Linked DNA regions of Homo sapiens: region 1 is linked to region 2. Evidence: promoter capture Hi-C in 16 types of primary human blood cells and fetal thymus (Javierre and others, 2016). All regions are on one chromosome and are shown on one strand. The core of a region is centred on a gene start or on the middle of the fragment in contact, and the rest is flanking DNA. Distances in the headings are between cores, read along the strand shown. Region 1 holds the start of CAPN11 (calpain 11). Region 2 has its middle 27 kb from the start of MRPS18A.

Region 1 (5,421 bases), core at 714-3,213, 440 kb after region 2:
CAAATATTGGCATGGCTTTGAAAGGAGCACCTTGGTTGTGTGAAGGCTTCTCGGTGCTCCCGAAGCCTGTTTTCCGTATGGATGGGCAGGCACACCACCGCCATTTGCCTGGCAAGCCCCCTTGTCTGCAAAGCATGGCCTGGACAGACCTCAGCCCCCACCTCTGGTTAGCCGAGACCCTCTCATTCCTCATCTGCCCAGCATGCCTTCCCTTTCCTGCAGGGCCTGAAGTTCAAAGCCAGGTTCCAGCATTTCCAAATGTGAAACTCCAGATAATGCCCAAGCAGCACACTGAGCAAGAGTCCTGAGGACAGCCCTCCCCCAGGGTGGGAGGCTGTAATAGAGAGGAACACCCGTGCCTGCCTGCACCCTACCCCTGGCACCTCGTCACAGAGTTCATGTCCAGGCAGATCACATTAGAGGCATCCAAGAGGTGCAATAGTGGAATCAGGAGTGGGCAGGGGAGACCACAGGATCCCCAAAGACCACTTCCTCCTTTCACAGCTGGGGGCAGCAGAAGATACGGATAAGAGCTAAAGTTATGGCCGGGCACGGTGGCTTATGCCTATAATCCTAGCGCTTTGGGAGGCCGAAGCGAGTGATCACCTGAGGTCAGGAGTTCGAGACCAGCCTGCCCAACATGGCGAAACCCCGTCTCTACTAAAAATACAAAAATTAGCTGGGCATGGTGGTGGGCACCTGTAATCCCAGCTACTTGAGAGGCTGAGGCAGGAGAATCGCTTGAACCCGGGGGGCAGAGGTTGCAGTGAGCTGAGATTGCACCACTTCACTCCAGCCTGGGCAAAAGAGCGAGACTCCATCTCAAAAAAAAAAAAAAAAAAAAAAATCTGAAGTTATTAGTTTAAATCCTGGCTCGACCGCTTAACAGCTGTGTGACCCTGGGCAAGTTGCATCATACCTCTAGACCTCACTTTCCTCATCTATAAAATGGGAATAGCAATGTCATGGCCTCTGGCTGTTTTAAGGATTAAATAAGTAGGAAGTTCTTAGCCCAGTGTTTGGCACATAATAACAAACCATAATTAATATTCTCGTAGATGAGGAGATTGAGTCCCAGAAAGGAGAAAGGGGGAGGGCTCGCCCAAGGTCAGCTCCTGTTTCAGAGCTTGGAACAAGGTTCTCTGATCCCATTGGGTGCTCTCACACCTGTTCTGTGCCTGATTAGCACCAGGCAGGGCTGAGGGGCACTGGGATGACCTTGACAGTCCCTGTCCTCAGCCATCATACACTCCAGAGAAGACTGCACTCTGGAGCAGAGTTCTTAGCTCAAAGCATTCCCACTTTCCAGTGCAGAGGCAGGACATGTGGTCAGACCAGTGGCCTAACCTTGCCAGACTGGGGCTAGGCAAGGAGAGTGTTGCAGGTGGAATCGTGTCCCCCAAAAAGGCATGTTGAAGTCCTGGCCCCCAGTACTTCAGAATGTGACCTCATTTGGAAACAGGGTGGTTGCAGATGTAATTCGTTCAATTAAGATGAGGTCATACTGAAATGCATGGGACCCTAGCCCCATATGACTGGTGTCCTTATAAGAAGAAGAGACACAGAGGAGGGTGCCATGTGAAGACAGCAACACAGGAAAAATGCCATGTCAGTGAGAAAGGGGCTTTTGGGAATGAGAAGGCTTTCTGGATGTAAAGGTCAGGTTGGTGTGTCAGGGACAACCCCTTCCTGGAAACCTTGGGCTGAAAAAAAGGGACTGGGACCTACCCTGATGGGATGACCGTGATACAGTGAGGACAGCCAGGCTGGTGGAGGCTGTGCAAGGCAGGGGTGCTGGGTCATCTGTCCCTAAAGCGGGTAGCCCTCAGCTGGGTAAGGGGCTGGGTTACTGAGAAGGAGAAAAGGGAAGGCAGCTGTTAAACCGGCTGCTGACCTAGGAATCCCACTGCAATGAGAGAGTTCTGGGGGGAGGGTCTCTTCTCCCCCTCCCACCAGAACCTTCAACTGTCAAGCACCGAGCTAGCCACCAGCATGCTGTACTCCCCAGGTAGGCACTCATGGGGCCTTGCCCCACTCCTGTACCTCCTGCAGGCTAGAGCCTCCCCCCAGGGGAGGAGCTGTGTCCCGCATCAGACTGGGTGCCCCTTGAGGGTACAGAGAGTGACTCTTCCATCAGACTGGATGCCCCTTGAGGGTACAGAGAGTGACTCTTCCATCAGACTGGATGCTCCCTAAGGACAGGACCTGGGCCTCGTTCTCAGACTGTTTGGGGAAGGATAGGCCACTGGTGGTCAGACTGGGTGGTAGGCCGGGCAGGAACTCTTTCTCCTCTCCACTGACAGTTGGAGTTGGGGAGAGGAGAGGGGCCGGCCATCCCACTGTCATGGCTGCTGGGGAAAAGGGTTTGTGTGAAAAAGCCCACGTAGAGAAGAAAACTTTAGGGAACAGAGAGAACCTCTCCTAAGCCTAGAAAAGCAGGTCCCTCAGCCCAGGAAGATGAGATCCTCAGGGTGGCAGGGGCAGGACTACCTGAGGCAAGCCTGGGACCAGACTCCAGGAGATGGGGGAGAGTGGGCTGGGGGGAAGGGGAGGGCTGGGCAGAACTGAGTTGTTCCTGTGGGGCTAGGGTGCACAGAGGGCAGCCAGCCTTGGCCAGCAGAAGGTCAGCCCTGTACCTCACCCTCAGCCTGGGGCACCGTGAGACCATGGGCCCCTAGACCCAGCCTCCCAGCTTCTCAGGCCCTCCCTGTTTACCTGACCCTAGGAAGTTTAGGCCTAGCTGGTGACCCCAAACCCAGTCCTTGTTCTTCAGAAGTGCCCTGAGCCCAGGAGTTCAAGACCAGCCTGGTCAGCATAGCAAGACCTCATCTCAAAATATAATTTATTTATTTATTATTATTACTTATTAGTATTTATTTTTTTTTAAAGTTCCCTGACACAACATCTTAGTTTTTTCCCAGTGCCGGAAATCAAACTGTCCTTAAATCTATAGTCCCCTAATAACAATGTATTGCATTTAGAAAATCACTGAGAGAGGCCAGGCACAGTGGTTCACGCCTGTAATCCTAGCACTCTGGGAGGCCAAGGCAGGTGGATCATCTGAGGTCAGGAGTTCGAGACCAGCCTGGCCAACATAGTGAAACCGTGTCTCTACTAAAATACAAAAATTAGCCATGCGTGGTGGCGGGCGCCTGTAATCCCAGCTACTCGGGAGGCTGAGGCAGGAGAATCTCTTGAACCCAGCAAGTGGAGGTTGCAGTGAGCCGAGATCGTGCCACCGCACCCCAAGCCTGGGCGACACAGCGAGACTCCATCTCAAAAAAAAAAGAAAATCACTGACAGTAGATTTTAAGTGTTCTCACCACAAACAAATAACAAGTATGTGCAGTAATGCAGATATTAATTAGCTCAACTGAGCCATTCCACAGTGAATACATATTTCAAAACACCATGTCGTATACAACAGATATATACTTTTTTTGTCAATAAAATAAAACTGATTTAGTTAAAAACGATCTGGCCGGGCGCAGTGGCTCACGCCTGTAATCCCAGCACTTTGGGAGGCCGTGGCGGGCAGATCACGAAGTCAGGAGATCGGGACCATCTTGGCTAACGCGGTGAAACCCTGTCTCTACTAAAAATACAAAAAATAAGCCAGGCGTGGTGGCGGGCGCCTGTAGTCCCAGCTACTCGGGAGGCTGAGGCAGGAGAATAGCGTGAACCCAGAAGGTGGAGCTTGCAGTGAGCCAAGATCGCTCCACTGCACTCCAGCCTGGGCGACAGAGTGAGACTCCGCCTCAAAAAAAACCTCAAAAAACAACAACAACAACAACAACAAAATGATCTGTAGGTTCTCAGTCTGATGGAGGAGACAGGATGTGCAGCTGCAGCAGAAAGCTTCCTGTCCATTCATGCCTTTTAACATGCAGCAGCCCCTGCTTTCCACGCAGTTTCAGTTACCCGCTGTCAACTGCAGTCTGAAAACATCAGGATATTTTGAGACAGAGAGACCACATTCACATTACTGTTATTGTATTGTTGTATTTGTTATATTTTATTACTTATTATGGTTAACTGCTTACTGTGCCTAATTTATAAACTAAACTTTATCATAGGTATGTACATAAAGGAAAGACATAGTATTGATATATACAGGGTTTGGTACCACCCGCAGTTTCAGGTGTCCACTGGGGGTGTTGGAACGTACCCCTAGGGTTAAGGGGAGCTACTGTGTTGCTCTGGCCATCTGTCTGTGCTTCCCACAGGCAGCCTTGGTCTGTCTGTCTCAGCCTTCTCACGCTCCTAGCCCATGTGACAGCTTGGATCTTTTGCCCTCTCTAAGGGGATATTTTCTTTTGGGTTTTTTTTTTTTTTGGTGTTTTTGTTTGTTTGTTTGTTTTGAGGTGGAGTCTCACTCTATTGCCCAGGCTGGAGTGCAGTGGCCCAACCTTGGCTCACTGCAACCTCCACCTCCCGGGTTCAAGCGATTCTCCTGCCTCAGCCTCCTGAATAGCTGGGACTACAGGCATGTGCTACCACACCCAACTCATTTTTGTGTTCTTAGTAGAGACGGGGTTTCACCATGTTGGCCAGGCGGGTCTTGAACTCCTGACTTCAGGTGATCCGCCCACCTCAGCCTCTCAAAGTGCTGGGATTACAGGCGTGAGCCACAGTGCCCAACTTAAAGACATTTTCCATGACAACTGTGGTGGTGTGGATAGGTGTGTCAGTCCTTCCTGCAAGTCAGAGCTGAGTAATGACCTCACACCCTGGGGACTGGGTATGCAGCTTCGAAGCAGGGTTTGGGGGCCAGACAGTGAGAAATGACTTGTTGGGCTGGATGGTGACTAGGGGACAGAGGGCTCTGGGGAAATGAGACAAGGGAGTTAAGATGGAACCTGAATTGCCTTGGCCTGCCCTCTGATGTTCTTTCAGTCTTCTCAAACAACAGCATCTTCCCTGGTCCTTCCAGGCCCCCAGGAGAGCTCAACACCCTCAGTCCTCGGAGCAGCCAGGGTAGAGGCTGCCTGGAGTGACTGCACGGTGCAAGGGCATGGAGTGGTTTGCCTTATCGTGTGAATGACCTTAGATGATTCGCTCAACCCAGGTTTGTCAACCCCAGCTCTCTTGACATTTTGAACTGGAAAATTCTTTATTGTGGAGACTTTCCTCTACACTGAGGGGCGCCCAGCAGCATCCCTGGCCTCTACTTACTAGATGCCAGTAGCTCCCCTGAGACCTGCCCCAGTTATGACAACCAACACTGCCTCTAGACGTTGCCACCTGTTCCCTGGGGGCCGTAATCACCCCGGGTTGAGAACTTCTGACTCAATCTCTCTGTGGAGGCCCTGGCTTCCACCCAGCTCAGATGGGAATAGTCATCCTGATCCGCCAGCTTCACAGATAGGGATCAGGGGCTGAAACAGAAGGTGTTCAGCTCTCCCCTCTCAGGACTGCTTT
Region 2 (6,336 bases), core at 2,156-4,655:
CAGGGCTGCTGCTGTGCCCTTCCCAAGGCAGGTGGGTGCTGTTCCCATGGACTAGGACTGGGCAGGATTTGGGGTGGGACTGCTTCTGAGGCTTGGTGTCCTCATTTGTAAGATTGACATAATAATACTCATTTTGGGGTTACTCTGTGTGTGTGTGTGTGTGTGTGTGTGTGTGTGTGTGTTTGTGTGTGTGTATAGTGTTCAATGAGATAGTAGAGGCTGGACAGGTGGCTCATGCCTGTAGTCCCAGCACTTTGGGAGGCTGAGGCAGGCAGATCACCTGAGGTCAGAAGTTTGAGACCAGCCTGACCAACATGGCGAAATCCCATCTCTACTACAAATACAAAAATTAGCTGGGCATTGTGGCACACGCCTGTAATCCCAGCTACTCAGGGGGCTGAGGCAGGAGGATCACTTGAAACTGGGAGGTGGAGGCTGTAGTGAGCTGAGATTGCACCGTTGCGCCCCAGCCTGGGTGACAGAGCAAGACTCTGTCTCAAAAAAACAAAAAACAACAACAAAAACAAACAAACAAACAAAAGAGATAGTAGACAGTGCCTAGCACGGAAGAAGCACTCAGTGAACAGTGGTTAAATAACGGCAAAGAACTAACCTGGATTGGCTCCTGCAGATCAGTCATCAAATGGGTTAAGCGGGTGTGGATTCGAGGAAAAGCTAAGAATGGAGGCTAGGAGCATGTGGGATGTGATTTCATTGCTCCAGAGGGACTAGAGCTTGTCGGGCAACAGGAAGGGGAATGACTTGTGAAAGGGGGTGTAGGGGCCACCCAATTGCAGGTGACGGAACAGCCCCTTGGGTTAGGGCTCAGCAGCTGTTCTCTGTGTCCCAGCCAGGATAATGAGGGGGAGGCTGTCTGGTTGCCTGGGGACACAGGCCCTTTGCGCAGTAGCACCAGTAGGAGATACTAACCAGTTCTTCATTTATTAAAATTCTTCAAGTATTAAAGTCTTCTAAGGGGAAAATCCAGGATTTCCTCAGCTTTTCTCTCAGGCCCAGTCCATGGCTTGGTGTGCAGCAAGTCTTTAATAAATGTTAGCATCGGCCAGGTGCCATGGCTCACGCCTATAATCCCAGCACTTTGGGAGGTTGGGGTGGGTGGATCACCTGAGGTCAGGAGTTCAAGACCAGCCTGGCCAACGTGGTGGAACCCCATCTCTACTAAAAATACAAAAATTGGCCGGGCGCGGTGGCTCACGCCTGTAATCCCAGCACTTTGGGAGGCCGAGGCGGGTGGATCATGAGGTCAGGAGATCGAGACCATCCTGGCTAACAAGGTGAAACCCCGTCTCTACTAAAAATACAAAAAATTAGCTGGGCGCGGTGGCGGGCGCCTGTAGTCCCAGCTACTCGGAGGCTGAGGCAGGAGAATGGCGTGAACCTGGGAAGCGGAGCTTGCAGTGAGCCGAGATTGCGCCACTGCAGTCCGCAGTCTGGCCTGGGCGACAGAGCGAGACTCCGTCTCAAAAAAAAAAAAAAAAAAATTAGCTGGATGTGGTGGTGGGTGCCTGCAATCCCAGCTATTCGGGAGGCTGAGGCAGGAGAATCACTTGAACCCGGGAGGCGGAGGTTGCAGTGAGCCAAGATTATACCCCAGCACTCCAGCCTAGGCAACAAGAATGAAACTTCACCTCAAAAAAAAAAAAAAAAAAAAGTCAGGTGTGGTGGCATGCACCTGTAATCCCAGCTACTTGGGAGGCTGAGATGGGAGGATTGTTTGAGCCCAGGAGGTGAAGTTTGCATGCAGTGAGCAGATTGCACCACTGCACTCCAGCCTTGGTGACAGAGTGACATCCTGTCTCAAATCTGAAAAACAAAAAAAAAGTTAGCATCTGTTCTTCCCTCTCGATATACAAAATTGTGGTTAGATCTTATTTTCAAGAATTGCTATGAAGATTACGCGCAGTAGTATATAAGGAGGCATTTTTGCAGCAGCGACATTTAACCCCCAGGATAACTGAGTTCAGAGATGTCAGATAACCTCCTGAATGACACAGGTACTACGGGGTGGAGGGAGGTTTGGGACAATTGGAGCCAGTGGGAGCTGTCAGTGCCGGCGGTGGGGGTCTTCAGCAAGTTTAGAAAGTGAGGAGGGCAGCGCTGGGCAGAGAGGAGGGCAAGTCAAGTCTCTAGGCAGGGCATGGCTTTGACGGCAGGCCTCACAGTAAGATGGGTGTGCTGGATTCAGGATCTAGACGGTGAGATCCCAGAAAGTGAGGCAGGTAGTGGAACCAAGGGAAGACCTCTCTCGAAGCTTCTTGCCGCTCTTAGAGATGAGGGAGCGAATGTTTTTGGGCATGGACCAGACTGTATCTCCCAGAACTCTCTTGGCAGCCTTGCCAGAGGGGTGCTGTTCTCCCATTGCACAAATGAGGCTGCTTAGGCCTGGAGAGGGTAAGGACCTTGCTCAAGGTTGTACAGACTGACAGCGACGGAGTCAGGATTGTGACCCAGCTTTGCTCAACTACAAAGACTGCCCTCTTTCCACTACACCATGAGGTCACCGTGACCCCCAGGAAACAGGGGGATGGACAATATCAGATGACCTTTTAAAGATCTTTGCCAGCAGAAACATTTTCTCAGTCTCTGCTCCTTGGTCTCCCTCCACACTCACCCCTGCCTCCTCCCGCTCTCTTCCCTCCTCATTACTCAACCAGGAGTAACCCCACTGGCTATCTATCTGTGGGTTGGGGGAGGAGACCAGCAGCTGTAGTTACTCAGATTAACCCTCTGCTGCCTGCCCACCTCCCCTCCACCCCATGGATGTGTTGGTGAGGAACCCCCCTCCCCGCTCCCCTGCAGGCAGCCACTGGCTGAGGGGCACTTCCCAGAATTAGCCACTGTGAACAGCTGGCTGGGGGGCGGGGTTGAGGGGGTAGGTGGTAGAAAGGAGGCTAATAGCTTCCAGATGTGCCAAGGCACGAGAGCCTTGGGAGCTTCAGTTTCAGTGGTCTCCTGTGACTGGGATGGGTTGGCCCTCGTGTCCAGGACTCCAGAATTACTAAGGCAGCCAGGCAGATCCCGACTTTCAAGCTGCATGCAAATCTGTGTGCAGGGTAAGGTTGACCTCCAAGCTGCACCTGCAGGGGCCCCGGGAAAACCCCTGCAGCCCAGCTGCTCTCTGTGGTATTAATACTAACACCATCTACCATGTCTACACTGCCAGTAGCATAGGCAACAGAGCATGGTAGTTTCGAGTGCAGGGTTTGGATTCACAGCGCTTAGAATCAAATCTCAGCTCAATCTCTCAACCAGTTCTGGGACCCAAAGCAAACTGCTCAGCTTCCTTAGCCATGAAATAGTTTCTATTTCATAAAGTTATTATTAGTATTAAATGAGATAATCTATGCAAAGTGCTTAATGCAGTGCCTGGCACATAGGAAGTTGTTGTCATTTAGAGAATACCTACCTTATTTCAGAGGCTATGCAATTTTATCCTTGCAACCCTGGAAGTTAGCTATGAGTAGTCTTACTTTTATGAGGCTATATCAAGGCTCAGAGAGGCTAAGTTACCTGTCCAGGATCACACAGGTGTCAAGTGCAGGGTTGCAACTTGAACCCAGGCCAAATGAACCCTAAAGCCCAGGCTCATTATCCTGTGCCCCTCCCTGTGTGTGTGTGTGTGTGTGTGTGCGTGTGTGCGCATGTGTTTTACATTTTCCCATCAGTAGAAAGAGGTTGTAGGACCTGCTAGGGGCTGAGGGCATCATTTTCTGTCCTGCTTACTGAAGAGAGGCCTGACCCAGAAAAGTAGGCAACAGCTTGGGGGTTCAGAGGGGCCCTGGAAGAAGGCAAGTGCCCTGGAGGGGACACCAGGGACAGGAAATTTCAGGAACATGGAAGGAGCAGAGGACAGAATATCAGAGGTTGGGAGAAGTCCAGGTTGTCCTAGGGTGCCCTCAAAGAGTATCCAGAGCCCCCATGAGCGGATCCTCAGGAGCCACTGACTGCCCTTTCCCTGGGTGTGTTTCTTGCTTTGCCAGTTGCTGCTCCTCTTCTGCACGTCTTCTCCTTGGCTAGTGCAGGGTGGTGGAGGGTCTCCAGAATTCCCCTTTACAGGATGGGGAGGACGGGAGACCAGGGAGGAGGAGAACCAAGAGCGAAGGGGCTGGAGCCAGCCAGCAGGGAGGCCCGCCATTGGCCCAGCTCCCAGGGCCTGGGCCTGAGGACTACGGAGCTGCCTGCCCCTCACCATTCCCTCCCACTGCCCCCTAGGGCTCCTTGGCTGCTGAGCCTGCCAGATGGGCCCCCGCCAAGCCAAACAGCTGCCAGGGGGAGAGGAAGAAGCATTTCCGAGCAGAGAGGCCCCTGTAGGCTCCTGCTGAAGCCTAGAATCCCCCTTTCTCACCGCCAAGTGAAGGGGGAATCTGTGCACATGCACATAGGCATGCACGCATGGCACTGGGGAGCCCAGGCGCAGGGCCACGGGACCTGGGACATGCAGGGGCAGAGGGGTGGGGGTCTGGAAGCAGGCTTGGGCAGGGACCATGGCTGTGCCAGGTAATAGGGAGTCTGGGGAATTAAGCTTGGCTCACTCTGAGGTTGGGGAATGTAGTGGATTGAATAGAGACCCCCAAAGTTTATGCCCACCTGGAACCTGAGCATGGGACCTTATTTGGAGATAGGATCTTTGCAGAGGTAATGAAGGTGAGGATTGAGATGCGATCACGCTGGATTAGTGTGGGCCCCAAATCCAGTGAAAGCGTCCTCCTAAGAAACAAGTAAAAACACTGAGAGACGTGGTGGGGACAGCCGTGTGAAGACGCATGTGAAGGTGGTGTCAGAGACTGGAGCCCACAGCCAAGGAATGCTTTGAGCCACCAGAAGCTGGACAGGAACTTGGCCCTGCTGGCATCTCAATTTCAGACTTCTGGCCTCCAGAACTGTGAGAAAATAAATTTCTGTTGTTCTAAGCCACCAAGTTTGTGGTCATTTGTTTCGGCAGCTCTAGAAAATGAAGACAGGGAGGCATATGGAGGAGGGTTGGGGTGGGGGGAGTGGGTAGGTGGAGGCTTCATAAGAAAGCCTTGGAAAACAGGATACAAAATATTGACCATTTATCTTGCCACTATTCTGTGCCAGGCACTTTTAAAGATATTTATCTCTATCCTCACAATGACCCTGCCACAGAGAATTATGGTTTCCATTTTACAGTGAGGTTCAGACCCAAGTGAACTCCATTTAGTTAGGATTCCAACCCAGGATCCTCTGTCTCCCAAGCCTGGCCTCTGTCCACCTTCTTTCAAGGGTGGCCCCAGTAGATTCCAGGGCAGATGACACTTGCTTTCAAGTTGGAGGGGTCTCCAGGAGTCTGAGAGGGGAACATAATGATGCTCTACTGGGAAACAGGGGAAGAGGCCATTACTGCTCTGGGGGCCTGCTGTGCTGGATGCCCTAGAAAATCTCGACTCACCACGATGTTCCTGTAGGCCTCAGTGACATGGCCAACGGTTTCTTCATGGTCCTGTACCCTACAGAGGGAGGCATCCCTACTCACCTCATTCCCACTATGACAATCACATCACTCCCTCCACCACCATCGCTGTCTCCATCATTGCCACCTCCATCACCACCGCCATCACCTTCACCATCATCCCCTTCACTGTTACCATCACCACCCTGAAACTGCTATAATGGCTGTCACGACCAGTACTTCTGTGTCCATGTCACCATCTCCATCACAACCCCTCTACCCCCACTACCATCACTGCAAAATGGTGGAGAGGTGAGAGGCCGGTAAGTCACTCAGGGAAGGACAGGACAGCCGAGCAGGATTTAGCAGGGGAGGAGGAGGAGGTGGGATGTGTCTGGCTGACAGACAGGGTCCATAGTGAAGGACTGCCCTAGGTTCAGCCTTGTTGAGAGGGAGGTGAGTCTGCCTGGCTGGAGTAAACACTTGGTAGGACAGGCTGTCTTCGCGGGCGTTGGTTTGGGTGGGTGGAGGCTATTCTAGCAACACATCCTGCCCCTGCCTGGCTCACGATGGTCTCTGGGGGATGTGGATTTTGGCGGGTCCCTGGCTCGTGGCCACCTGCCTGGCCTGGCCTGGCCGTAGCAGTGAGGTCATGAGAGTGGCTGTACTGGGAGTACTGGGGAGTGGGGTGGAAAGGAGGGGCGCGCCCTGGCTGGGAGAGGAAGGCCTCTCTCCCCTGGCTGACTCTACCCATAACGATCATAACGATGAAGTAAGCACGAGCCTGGACACTCCATCTCCCCAGACTGCCCTCCCTCCGGCCTGCCCAGCTTGCCCCGGGCCTGGGTTCTGGGCGCTGCAGGCTCTCTCTGCCAAGGGCTCTGGGTTTCCCATTCCCTGGTGAC

The links. Contacts are between HindIII fragments. The CHiCAGO score rates a contact against its expected background, and 5 or more counts as called.
Region 1: a contact is called between the fragment with the promoter of CAPN11 here and a fragment that was not itself captured in region 2, in 10 of 17 cell types (neutrophils, naive CD4 T cells, activated CD4 T cells and 7 more). The highest score is 11.5, in neutrophils.

What each region holds. Positions count from the first base shown.
Region 1 is chr6:44,156,857-44,162,277 of GRCh38, forward strand. It overlaps CAPN11 (calpain 11), which reads left to right and starts at 1,964. Exons shown (of 23, transcript NM_007058.4): 1 at 1,964-2,008. The coding sequence starts at 1,993. LOC107986599 (a long non-coding RNA gene) reads right to left here and starts at 1,747. Exons shown (of 3, transcript XR_002956350.2): 1 at 1,729-1,747. RefSeq lists an enhancer at 3,141-3,310 and a silencer at 4,694-4,783. The HindIII fragment of the contact is 9,288 bases long and covers 1-3,856 here.
Region 2 is chr6:43,711,992-43,718,327 of GRCh38, forward strand. No RefSeq gene overlaps it. Among named protein-coding and RNA genes, the nearest start is that of MRPS18A, 27 kb to the left of the region's middle. The HindIII fragment of the contact is 2,271 bases long and covers 2,271-4,541 here.